3 separate regions of the Homo sapiens genome follow, and all the other regions are linked to region 3. The links are contacts of gene promoters, found by promoter capture Hi-C in blood cells and fetal thymus (Javierre and others, 2016). All regions are on one chromosome and are shown on one strand. The core of a region is centred on a gene start or on the middle of the fragment in contact, and the rest is flanking DNA. Distances in the headings are between cores, read along the strand shown.

Region 1 (4,049 bases), core at 794-3,293, 590 kb before region 3:
ACTTTTGACCTCATGTGATCTGCCCGGCCTCAAGACTCCTTTAAATGTGCCCTCCTCTGTGAGACTCTTCCCAACAATTCCTGTCTCTCTGATCCAATCCTGGGTCAGCCTTTTTTTTTTTTTTTTTTTTGAGACGGAGTCTCGCTCTGTTGCCCAGGCTGGAGTGCAGTGGCGTGATCTCGGCTCACTGCAAGCTCCGCCTCCCAGGTTCACACCATTCTCCTGCCTCAGCCTCTTGAGTACCTGGGACTACAGGCGCCGCCACCACGCCCGGCTAATTTTTTGTATTTTTAGTAGAGACAGGGTTTCACCATGTTAGCCAGGATGGTCTGGATCTCCTCTGACCTCATGATCCACCCACCTCAGCCTCCCAAAGTGCTGGGATTACAGGCGTGAGCCACCGCGCCTGGCCGGGTCAGGCTCTTTCTAATCTGTTTAAAACCATATCACCCAGAAGGTATTCAGTATATACTTATTTAAATGAATTGAAAGTCATATGAGCAGCATGGACTTACTACTTTAAAAACCACATTATTAGAAACCTAACACCTTGGAAGCTCTGCATATTCTGAATGAAGAATATACTAAACCACTCAGAGGGAAATAGTTATTAACCATTTTACCACAGACGACTAAACAACTACCATGGCCCTTCCCTTGTTTCAGCTGGTCTGGGTCTTAAAAAGACTTTGGAAAACCCAATCTACCCTCCTCTAGCAGCAAATCAATTCCCACAGTCAGCCAGGAGGTTCTAACCACTGCCCTACCTCTTTCAACAAGGAACAAGCCCTAGATTTTTGCTGTTTCTAAAAATATGCAGCTTTTAAATATATCCATCATTTTGGTGCTCTCTACTGCAGAGCTTAATAAAAGCAAAGCCACTGAAATTCAGGAGATGTCACAGCTCAAAGTACTCCCGTGTCAAGCAGAATGTCTGGGCATGACTGATGGCATAATTTCCCCACAGAACAACAGTCTTGTCCCACGTCAAGGAAACATACATAAAAACACGCAAAGTTCTCACAAATAAGATCCTCTGCGTTTTAGCTAGAATGGCAACAGTGATCTTTGTGGATGTTTTTTTTCTTTTTTAAGAATGGACTTGAAGCCAAGAATTTGAGACCAGCCTGGGCAACAAAGTGAAACCTTCCACAAAAAAAAAAAAAAAAAAAAAAATTGCCAGGCTTGGTGGCACATGCCTGACATCTCAGCTACTCAGGAGACTAAGGTGGAGGATCTCTTGAGCCCAGGAGGTTAAGGCTGCAGTCAGCTGTGATTGCACAATGGCACTGCAGCCTGGGCAACAACAGAGCGAGACCATATCTTAAAACAAAAAAAAAAAAAAAAAAAAAGGAATGCAATACCATTGTCACAAAAATAATGGTTTATCTTCATTAAAAAAATTCTTTACGAGGCAGGCGGATCACTTGAGGTCAAGAACACAAGACCAGCCTGACTGATGTGGCGAAACCTTGTCTCTACTAAAAATACAAAAATTAGTCGCTGTGGTGGCGCATTCCTGTAATCCCAGCTACTCAGGAGGCTGAGGCAGGAGAATCACTTGAACCAGGCAGGTGGAGGTTTCAGAGAGCGGAAATTGCGCCACTGCACTCCTGCCTGGGAAACAGAGCAAGACTCTGTTTCTAAATAAATAAATACATAAATAAGTAAGTAAAAAAATTCTTTTGCATTCATGTTCACATTTAATAGCTAGCTGAGCTATACCCTGAGACCTAAACAACCCCGAGCTCCTTTATCTTAAATTCTCGTCTTATGCCAAGGTCCAGTGTTTGGTTCATTTCCCTCATCTGAGAAAGACTTGGTCAACAAAAGGCAGTACAGGAAATAGTGCTGATGCTATGCTGGAGGCCCACACTGCCTTTATTTTCACCCCCACCAAAAACCCTTGGGCAACTGGTACAAGTCAATGATTCACCAAATCCCAACTCTAAGCTTTACTGGATGTCCTTAAACTCCCCTTGTGGTTGCTCAGAGATCAATGATTAGCTGTCACCACCTCACAGGAATCTGGCACACTCCTGTTTCTCAAAAGGGGCCCTGAAATTGAGCACTCCACTGCTCAGGTGGGACCAGCTGAATTTTAATAGATGTACGTACAGTTGCAAAGCTTAGAGAGGCAGGACTTCTGTAGTGGATAATTGTGTACTAGACCTTGGGAATCCCACGGAATGAGAGATTTTCTGTGAACCCATTATCTTATCTTATTACACGTCAGACTCCAAAAGAAGGGGAACTAGGAAACCAAATGACTCAATGCTGGTAGAAACAAATGCAGGGCCTCCAGCCTTCTCTACAAGCACTCTATCCTGCTGGGAAACTGATGAAAGCCAACCACAGACATGATGCCCTGAAGAACTTGGTACCTGAGCCAGACCCTGAGGTGGAGAGATCGTAGACAAGATCCTGGAGCGTCTTGTCTTTGGAGAGACACATCTCACATGAGGGATCTTCCATGTCCAGTCTCTGGCGGTTGTGATAGACACGCTGATGATAGTTAATGACAAGGAAAACAATGATGATGATGAGGAACAGGAGGAACACCGGGCCGGCGATGATGCCTACCAGCTCCACCGGGCCCCACATGGACGGGTGCTCAGGCTCCTTGAGGTGACCTGAGTCAAGTGAGAGAGGAGAGGGAAAGAATGAGAAGTAAAAACAAGGGAAAGAGTAAAAACACCCCCCTCAAAGTGAAGAGTGAAAAAGACCCCTTTCCCTGTCGATGTGTTCAGGCTCCCTTGATCTCTCTAATCTTCTGGGCTAGTCTTGCTGCCTAGATGCTCTCAAATGCCCAACTTCTTTAGTTAAGGCACCTCTTTCCACAGTCAAACCCACAACCCACTTTGTCACCTCACGCATTTCGTGGTACTATCCCCGCCTCAGGCCCCTACACAGATGCCTGTTTCTGCCCTTTAACTTCCCACAGCTCCTCTAAGCTCTGCTTTAGTTTCTCTCCTTTTCCTGTGGGCTCCACAGTAATGCCTCCTGAATGGTAGGCTTGCAAAAGGATGGTATGTGGTGTTTCTCGGCTTTGGTCACTGGCCTTTTCCTATTCTGGTCCCTCCTCACATCTAACCATCATCCTCCCTTGAGGAGTCACCTTTGCTCGGCTCTGGGGCCATCTCTTTCTGGATCAGTCCCACATCCTCCCGTGGGAATCCCTGCCTGGTTCTTCCACTCCTCACCGCTGCCTATGGCTGCTAAGCCACTACTCTAAACACTGCGGGCACCTCTGGGACTAACTTGAAAATCTGCTTCCTCACCCTCTAATCTACAAAAGCAACTGCTGAGAAACCCCAGCCTTTGTCACCTTCGGGAACATCCAAAAGGCATCTTTATCGTCAAACCAAGTGAGTGGGCAAGAGTAGAAAAAAATGAAATGACGGGGTACCCTATCTCCAAGCTGAGCCACTAGCCCAACAAGGGCATGCACTCACCACTGGGCACCCTCAAGTCGATCCTGTTGCAGTAGTCAGTGTAGCAGCAGTGGGTGTTGCGCAGGTCCTCCGAGCTCAGGCAGTAGAAGGGCTTCCCGGCAGGGACCAGCTCCACTTTGGGGATGCAGGTGCGCACATGGTGCTCCATCCCATCCAGATTGAAAATGGAAACCATGCAGGCCCCATCTGTCTCACACGTGTAGTTGGCCTGGAGGCAGCTGGTGCACGCACACAGCAGAGCTGCAGGAAATTGGGGAGCAGACATTGACATCAATGGTGAGATCTTTTGCAGGTCCTTTTCCAAACTTAGAATATAATCCCTTAGCATACTTGATGTTCCAAAACAGTTTTTATAGAGATGGGGCCAAAAAGATATCCTTAACTGAGCACAACTTCACCTGTTTATTTAGCTCACAAACAAGGCTTTTGAAGCTCCACTATTATCCTCTAAGTGCTCTACTTTATGCCTGTGAGAGACAGAGGAACTACCTTTTCTTCAAATTGAGATGCCTGACAAGAGGAAAGCATCTTCCTTTTGGAGAATGTGGGGCTGCCCCCCACTTCATGCAGAGCCACCTAGGGTTCCTGGAGCTA
Region 2 (4,357 bases), core at 1,822-4,321, 550 kb after region 3:
CAAAAAAGCAAAGAGCCCAGTTCAAAAATGGACAAAGGACTTGAATAGACATTCCTCCAAAGAAGATATACAAATGGCCAATAAGCACATAGAAAGATGCCTAACATCACTAGTAATTTGGGAAATGGAAATAAAAGCCACAATGAGCTACCATTTCATATTAATTAGGATAGTTATTATCAAAGTAGTAGTGTAAATATAAGTATGATAAGTCATAAGCTAGGAATATAGAGACTGATATTCTGGATGTACTTTTAATCAGTAGGGAGGGTGGAGGGACAGAAGAAGCAAATGTAAGATACTGCACAGAGAGCCTTCACAGGCCTTGGAGACTACTTGGATAGCTGAAGTGGGAGAAATTAGATAACTCTCTGGGTAATGGAGCTGTTGATGATGCTATCAACTGAGAAAATAGAGAAGAAATAGTATCAGAGGAAAGTAAATTCCATTTTGGACTTATTTAAAATGTGACTCCAATAAAGCTGGAAATATGACTCATCAGGAGAGACCTAGGAGTTGACAGCACATGGTGATTGCTGAAACAGAGGTAGATTAGACATCTCTAGGAAAGAGTACAGAATGACAGAGGGCAGAGGGCAAACTCTAGAAAACACTGCAATGTAAAGGATGACAAAGACTCATCAAAGAAGCAGGAGAAAAAAGTAGAGAATGGTGTCTTAGAAATCAAGAAAAGAGATAATTTCAAGAAGAGAATGTGGTCAACATTGCCAAAGGCTGTAGAGGTCAAAAAGGATGGGAACTGAGATGAAGTCATTGGATTTGGCATGGAAGTGGATCTTTAACAGCATTTGGCCACAAAAATCAGACTGCAGTTGGATTTTATGGGTCAATGGAGATGAAGCAAAGAGAGTCTCTTTTTCAAAGAGTCTAATAGTGAAGGCCAAATCTGGCATGTCTCTTGTTTTCATACAGTCCATAAAGCATGTTTTTTACATTAACAATTTTTTTAAATATAGAGACAGGGTCTCGCTATATTTCCCAGGCTGGTCTCAAACTCCTGGCCTCAAGTGATCCTCCCGTCTTGGCTTCCCAAAGCATTGGGATAACAAATATGAGCCAACATGCCCTACTCTACATTTTTAAATGGCTGAATCAACCACAATATTTCATGACACGTTAAACATATGAAATTCAGATTTCAGTGTTCATAAAGTTTTATTGGATTATAGCCACACTCATTCAATTACTTATTTTCAGTGCTGGTTTTCATGCAATTGTGAGAGAGACCATATGACCTTCAAAGTGTAAAATATTTACTACCTTTATAGGAAGTTTACCAGCCTCTAATTTAAAAGATCCATGATCGAGCATGGTGGCTTACACCTGTAATCCCAGAACTTTGGGAGGCTGAGGCGGGCAGATCACGTGAGGTTAAGAGTTCAAGACCAGCCTGGCCAACATGGTGAAACCCCCTTTTCTACTAAAAATACAAAAATTAGCTGGACATGATGGCAGGCATCTGTAATTCCAGCTACTCCGGGGGCTGAGGCAGAAGAATCGCATGAACCCAGGAGGCGGAGGTTGCAGTGAGCCAAGATTGCACCACTGCACTCCAGCCTGGGTAACAGAGTGACACTCCATTTCAAAAAAAAAAAAGTAAAAAATAAAGGATTCCTGGGTAGGGGGCTAGGGGAGGGATAGCATTAAGAGAAATACCTAATGTAGTTAGATGATGGGTTGATGGGTGCAGCAAACCACCATGGACATGTATACCTATGTAACAAACCTGCACGTTCTGCACATGTACCCCAGAACTTAAAGTATAATAATAATAATAATAAATAAAGGATTCCTTTCAACAAATACACTGTACTATATATAAGGCATTATGGCTATTTGCAAACATAGCTTAGCTGAAAATGGCTGAAGTTAAATGGTCCTCTATCACTTCAAAATATCCCCTAAGAGCATAAAAATAGTTGTGTTCTGAATACGTACCTAGCGTCTTTAGTGCAGTGGGCAGCTGTGAGGACCCACCTCTCTCTCACTAGGGTTCCCCCACATACATGAACAAGAACACGGCCATATTTAATCTGCAGGCTCACCACCCACGGCCATGCGCCAGCTTGTGCTTCGGTGCCCCCTATAATCCGAGACCCTTGCAACACATCCTTAAGCGGTGCTGTTCCACAATCTAAAAATAAAAATGATATATTATTTGGACTGAGCATCTATAGTATGTGTTACTTCCTAAGCTGAACATATTAATGCAATCCTTTAAATTCCTATGTTAAAAACACAAAGCAAGCTAACATACCGGAGACACGCCCATATTTTGAAAGAAACTTGGAGAGTTAAGACAAATATGCCATAATCGATTACTTACAAATAGACATGAAGTCAACACAATTCATTAATTTTAAAACTCTATTCCCCAAAAATATAAAAATAAAAATTTTTGGCCACGTATCACATTCTTCCCTGTGTGAAATAGCAGTTAAAGAGCCTGGGAACGGTGAGTCGAGAGCCGCAAATTCTAATGCTCACCATTTCACTTGTTGGGCTAATTTTTCTCAACTATAGTATGAAATGGTCACCTAATAGCCCTCCCTTTCAACTCTTTATCCCCTGACTTATTAATCTATAAAATGGGGATGATAAAACCCAGAATGTTTTGAGGAGAAAATACAGATTCACAATACAAATGTGTCATTTCACTATTACAACTACTGTTATTACAGCCGGTCTAGAAACTGCTTAGGTATGTAAAATTTTGGTTAAAGGCCATTGGGACAACAGAAAAGGAGAAACCCGAATTCAAAGACTATAGCGGTGGGGAAAAGGTAAGAGAGGCTCCCCAGAGACAGGCACGAACAGGTACTGCCCTCTGCATGCGCCCCTCCCTCCCTCCGCCGCCGGAGCCTCTTGCGGACGGCCTCAGCCTGCTGGGAACTAGCCGCCGGTTCCGGCGAGGGGCCGAGCCTGTGCCTTCCAGAGGGCGAGTAGTGGTCTGAGTATAAGTGAGAGCTCCCCACAAACAACAGCGCCACGCTCAGGAGCCCCAGCCGCATTTTGGAGGCTGGTGAGCAAGATGGCGGCAGGTACTTCCCACCCGCCCTGGGCACGCGGGGCGCACGGCCTGGCGGGGAGGCGCGAGTGAGGCCCGGAGGTGTGGGAGGCGGCCGAGGAATAGGTAGGTCAGTTTAGAAAGAACCCCTCACCCTCAAGGTCTGATCGGCTTCCTCATCCACCACTATCCCCCAGGTGATGTCTGATCACCCTGGCCTGTCCAGCAAGAATCCTGTTAGGTCGGTTAGCCGGAATGCCATTACTCCTGATGCTACCTCTTAGTAATTTTCCATCCACTGACACGTCTCTCCTGCTCCGTGGCTGTAAATTCTCCCTTGGCTCTGCTCTGTTTGGATTTTAGCCCAGTCCCTCTACCCATTACAAAATCCCATTGCCATGGTCCCTATCCCTATCTGGATGGTCCTGAATAAAGTCTGCCTTGCTGTGCTTTAATGAGTATCACTGAATAATTTTTCTTTAACATAACCCAGAGTTTTTAAGAGTGATACCTAATGTTCAGTTTTAAATTGTTCTGTCATTCCTATCTTGACCTATACTGAACTTTGCCTTTGTTAACCCAACACCTTCAGTAATAAGAAGACCGTGTGGGCTGTGGGAAGTTGGTGAGGTGGTGGAGAGTTAACGTAGAGGTCAATAAAAGGACAGTTGCCTTGCTCATACCATCCTTCCGAGGCTGGTGCAGTTGGCAGCATTAGATAAAAGGAGTATATGAGTTTGGGGCTTACACATGGTAACATGTGGGGAAGGGAGCAGAGTCTCAGAGCTGTGCCGAAATTGGGGTGGAGGAGGTGATATTGGAGAAACAAATTGCAGCATGAGCTGATCTCTGAGGGCTGACAAGAAACAAAGTCCTTATTCCCCAGATATTTTAGTGGAAGGTGATATTAGGAGGAGAAAAACACAGTTGGGGTGTGTGTATTTCTGTGTGTGTGAGATGTGGTCAGATTGTGTATGCCTTTGTAAACAAGGCAAGATGACTTTTTTTTTCTTTTTTTAAACCCATAGCCAACGTGATAAGGATGACGGGTCTTGCTATGACAGATAGTAGAGGTTTAACATACTCATAAAGCAAGTATATGCAGCCAAGTCATCAAATAGCAGTGACACAGGCAGTGGGCTGGGCACGGTGGCACATGCCTGTAGTTCTATTATACAGCACTGCTTTAAACAATATATTTTTTAGTTTTACTACTCAGGAGGCTGAGGCAGGAGGATTGCTTGAGCCCAGGAGTTCTGGACTGTAGTATGCTATGTCAACTGGTCAACTAAGTTTGGCATCAATATGGTGACCTTCGGGTAGTGGGGA
Region 3 (3,845 bases), core at 1,343-3,842:
GCCCCAAGAAGAGAGACATGAGGGGCAGCATCCCACAATCTTCCACAGGAAGTGCCCTCATTCTGAGAAAGACAGCTGTCAAGTAAGGCACATGACAAGAATAGAAGCAGCTGGGGCAGTGAGGTGGAATCAGAGTCCAGAGGGTCTACAGATGGGCTAAGGGATGCTCAAGGAAGCTCTGTAGAAAGTCTCTCTAGGAGCTTAAAGCCCACGGCCTGGAATGTGAAAGGAAGGGAGTTGGTGGAAGGCTGCTTAGAGTTAGGGGAGTCGGGCATCATGCCAAGAGTGAGCAGATGAACCCCTTTCTACTCCTGGGAGAATGTCCATCCTTCACGTCACTCTGATCATGTGTAGCTGGGCAACTCTTCTTCTCCACACTCTGCTGGCCTTCTCTCCTGACTCCATCAAAGAACATCTCACCTTCTGAATAGATCAAACCTACCTTGGAGTCTCAGGTTAGAAAAAAAGATTACTTTCTTCATTCACCTGTTAACACCCGGCTGGCTTCCCTGCCTTTCCCAGTGCGTGTCAGAACTTCTTGCTAGGATCTACTCACTCATGCTCCTGCTCCCAGGTCTTAGGGTCTTAGAAATACAAATTCATGGCTGGACTCGGTGGCTCATGCCTCTAATCCCATCACTTTGCGAGGCCGAGGCAACAGGATGGCTTGAGCCCAGGAGTTTGAAACCAACCTGGGCAACATGGCGAAACTCCCTCTCTACAAAAAAAAGTTAGCTGGGCATGGTGGCATGCATCTGTGGAGGCTGAAGCAGGAGAACAGCTTGAGACCCGGAGGTCAAGGCTGCAGTGAGCCGTGATAGCTCCACTGCACTCCAGCCTGGGCAGTAGAGCAAGAAAAGAAAAGAAAGAGAGAAAGAAAGAGAAAAAGAAGGAAAGAAAGAGAAAGAAGGAAAGAGAGAGAGAGAAAGGAGAGACAGAGAGAGTAAGAAAGAAAGAAAAAAGAAAAAAGGAGGGAGGCGGGGCAGCAGAAAGAGGAAGAAAACAGAAAGAAAGAAAGACAAATTTATTTAAATATCAAAACAAAAGAGAAACTGAACTAGTGGTAGAAGTTTCTACCATAGAAAGTTTTCAAATTATTGGCTATTTGGAGTCATGCGCGCTCCTTCTCTGTTGCTAAGGCCCCAAAAGATTGCAGCACACGAGGCAGCGCCGGAGAGGACCACTGAGCAGCACGGGCCCTGGCGGGGTAATTCCGAACACCGGCTTAGGAGGCGGGTTTACCAGGATTCTCATTCCAGCCCTGCCACTAATTGTTCAGGGTTCTCAAGGTCGAGCATGCACAAAATCACCCGGAGGGCTTTTAAAACACAAGTCGCCGGGCCCAACCCGAGTTTCGGAATATTTAGGTCTGCGGTGGGGCCCATTTCTTTTCTTTTCTTTTCTTTTTTTCTTTTTTTTTTTTTTTGATACGGAATCTCGCTCTGTCGCCAGGCTGGAGTGCAGTGGCGTGATCTCGGCTCACTGCAACCTCCCCCTCCCGAGTTCAAGCGATTCTCCGGCCTCAGCCTCCCGAGTAGCTGGGATTACAGACGCCCGCCACTACGCCCAGCTAATTTCTTGTATTTTTAGTAGAGACGGGGTTTCACCATGTTGGCCAGGCTGGTCTCGAATTCCTAACCTTGTGATCCGCCCGCCTCGGCCTCCCAAAGTACTGGGATTACAGGCATGAACCACCGCGCCCGGCCAAAATTTCTAATAAGTTCTCAGGTGATTCTGACTGGCGCTGCTGGTGGGGGATCCCACTTTGAGAAACACCCTCTGCTGTGTGAGCAGCTGCCTCCCCGGTACATTCGGAATAATCATAGTAGGTTTAAAGTTTGCTGGGGCTGGGATTCACCTGATACCTGGCACTTGGAGCCCTTGACACAGTTCATGGCACACGGAATACGAGCTCTTGTTGGATGGAGCACAAATGAGAAGCAAACCTGGGGCAGGACCCCGGGGCCCATGGCCGCCCCGCCGCGTTTCCCCCTCCGGGGCAGGCCTCCGGGCTCCGAGCGCTCCAGGCTGGCGCGCAGCACATTCCGGTTCCATGCACCCGCCGCCCGCGGCTCTGCTAATGCCTGTCCTCTTTGGGGTGACTAGGACCCTCCAATCTTTTTCCGCGCTGAAAGCCTGGCCGCAAAGACCGCACCCCCGGGGCGGGCTGAGACGCAGAGAAGCCGGGGCGCCCCTCTGCCGGTCCGCCGGGAGTTCCCGGGCCCGCAGCAGGCTGAGGACACGGCGGGACCCGCTGCACCTGGCCAGGGAGGGGCGGGGCGGGCGCGTTAGTGCAGCTGGGGGAGGTCCCGCCCCGGTCCCACCCTCCCGGCCGTCCGGTGGGGAAACCCGGGAGCCACCCCGCGGCGCGGCTGCGGCTTTGCCTCGGCGCGACAGGTAAGCGGCAGAAGGAGCCCGCGACCCTCTCCCCGGGAGGGCCCCCCTGAGCTCCCCGACTGCTCGGACTTCCCTTCGGCGGATCTCGCTTCTGCCGAGTCCTCGCTCTCACCTCCTCCTCCGCCAGCCTTCGCCTCTTCCTCTTCCTCCTCACTACCCCCGACAGTAAAATGAAGGGGCTGGGCCAGGCTGGTCCCTCCTGCCTTCGCTCTCTGCTGGTCGCGGTGGCCTGTAGCTCCTCCCTCGGTAGGACCCCCCTCCACCTTGGCGCTTACGAGATGAATGAGGAGCCCAGACCTCTGGAACTTGGAGGGGTGAGAGGGGGACAAGCCAGAGCCAGGGCTCCACACCCTCTTCCCCTCACCCACCCATGCCCTGCATTCCTTCTGTGCCCCGTCTCCCCAGATCGGGCCACCCCATGTGCTCTGGTACGGCAACTCTTGCAGAGAGGTTTCCTCCTGCCCTGCCACGTTGCGCCTGAGCAGAAGGGGACAGCAAGGAGAAGCCTCGCTGGTGGAGGTCGGTCTGAGCCCTGCTTGGTTGAATTCCCTCCAGAGCCTGGGGGCTTTTGGGGGTGGGAAGGGATCTGCCTCCTGCTGTGGGGAAATGGAATCTGCTGGGTGTTCATGACTGTGACTGTCACCGACTTCCCTATTTCCTCAGTTGTTCAGATTCCCAGGCTGACAAAAAGGAGAAACAGCTTTTACTTGCATCCAGGGCCAATCATCGCAGACCCAGACGTCTGCAGAGGGTAGGATGGGGCTCTTCTGTGTATGGGGGTGGAGGGTGGTCAGTTTGCCCACAAAGCTTACAGCAGACCCCTTCTAGCAGCCGACAACCCATTGCAGCACTCTCAGAAAGGATGTTAACTCTGTGCTCTGAGCTCGCCCCCAGGCCCACACACACAATTTACAGGCACTGGGTGAGGTTCATAGTTCTGGACACACCAAAGAGCCTCGAGGACTTTTGCGCCTTCTACCAGAGATGTGTGTGCACCACACAGGCCCTATTCTCCGCTCCAGACAGATGAGCTGTCTCCCTTCCCATCAAAGGAAAGGTTAAGAAGGATGAGACAGGGAAATTCATGTGATGATGAAAACCAGGTCAGGTGAGGGGTTTGAAATATGCTTTGGTTCCGGCCACATGTGGTGGCTCATGCCTGTAATCCCAGCACTTTGGGAGGCTGAGGCTGGTGCATCACCTGAGATCAGGAGTTCGAGACCAGCCTGGCCAACATGGCAAAACCCCATCTCCACAAAAAATACAAAAAGTTAGCCGGGCATGGTGGCAGGCGCCTGTAATTCCAGCTACTTGGGAGGCTGAGGCAGGAGAATTGTTTGAACCTGGGAAGCAGAGGTTGCAGTGAGCTGAGATCGCACCATTGCATTCCAGCCTGGGCAATAAGAGCAAAACTCTGTCTCAAAAAAAAAAAAAAAAAAAAAAAGAAA

The links. The method cuts DNA at HindIII sites, captures the fragments that hold promoters and counts their contacts. A CHiCAGO score of 5 or more calls a contact.
Region 1: a contact is called between a fragment that was not itself captured here and the fragment with the promoter of GALNT6 in region 3, in 2 of 17 cell types (M1 macrophages and megakaryocytes). The highest score is 6.5, in M1 macrophages.
Region 2: the fragment with the promoter of TMPRSS12 here is called in contact with the fragment with the promoter of GALNT6 in region 3 in 7 of 17 cell types (activated CD4 T cells, naive B cells, naive CD8 T cells and 4 more); the score reaches 9.4 in activated CD4 T cells.

What each region holds. Positions count from the first base shown.
Region 1 is chr12:51,974,911-51,978,959 of GRCh38, reverse strand. It overlaps ACVR1B (activin A receptor type 1B), which reads right to left. Exons shown (of 9, transcript NM_004302.5): 2 at 3,456-3,695; 3 at 2,385-2,633. Among named protein-coding and RNA genes, the nearest start is that of ACVR1B, 25 kb to the right of the region's middle. The HindIII fragment of the contact is 175 bases long and covers 1,956-2,130 here.
Region 2 is chr12:50,841,640-50,845,996 of GRCh38, reverse strand. TMPRSS12 (transmembrane serine protease 12) reads right to left here and starts at 3,071. Exons shown (of 5, transcript NM_182559.3): 1 at 2,846-3,071; 2 at 1,960-2,155. The coding sequence starts at 3,032. It also overlaps the pseudogene RN7SL519P. The HindIII fragment of the contact is 6,106 bases long and covers 1-4,357 here.
Region 3 is chr12:51,390,153-51,393,997 of GRCh38, reverse strand. It overlaps GALNT6 (polypeptide N-acetylgalactosaminyltransferase 6), which reads left to right and starts at 2,592. Exons shown (of 12, transcript NM_007210.4): 1 at 2,592-2,711; 2 at 3,061-3,148. It also overlaps a transcript of SLC4A8 not described here. RefSeq lists enhancers at 112-201, 2,245-2,829, 2,830-3,415 and a silencer at 2,020-2,559. The HindIII fragment of the contact is 14,269 bases long and covers 1-3,206 here.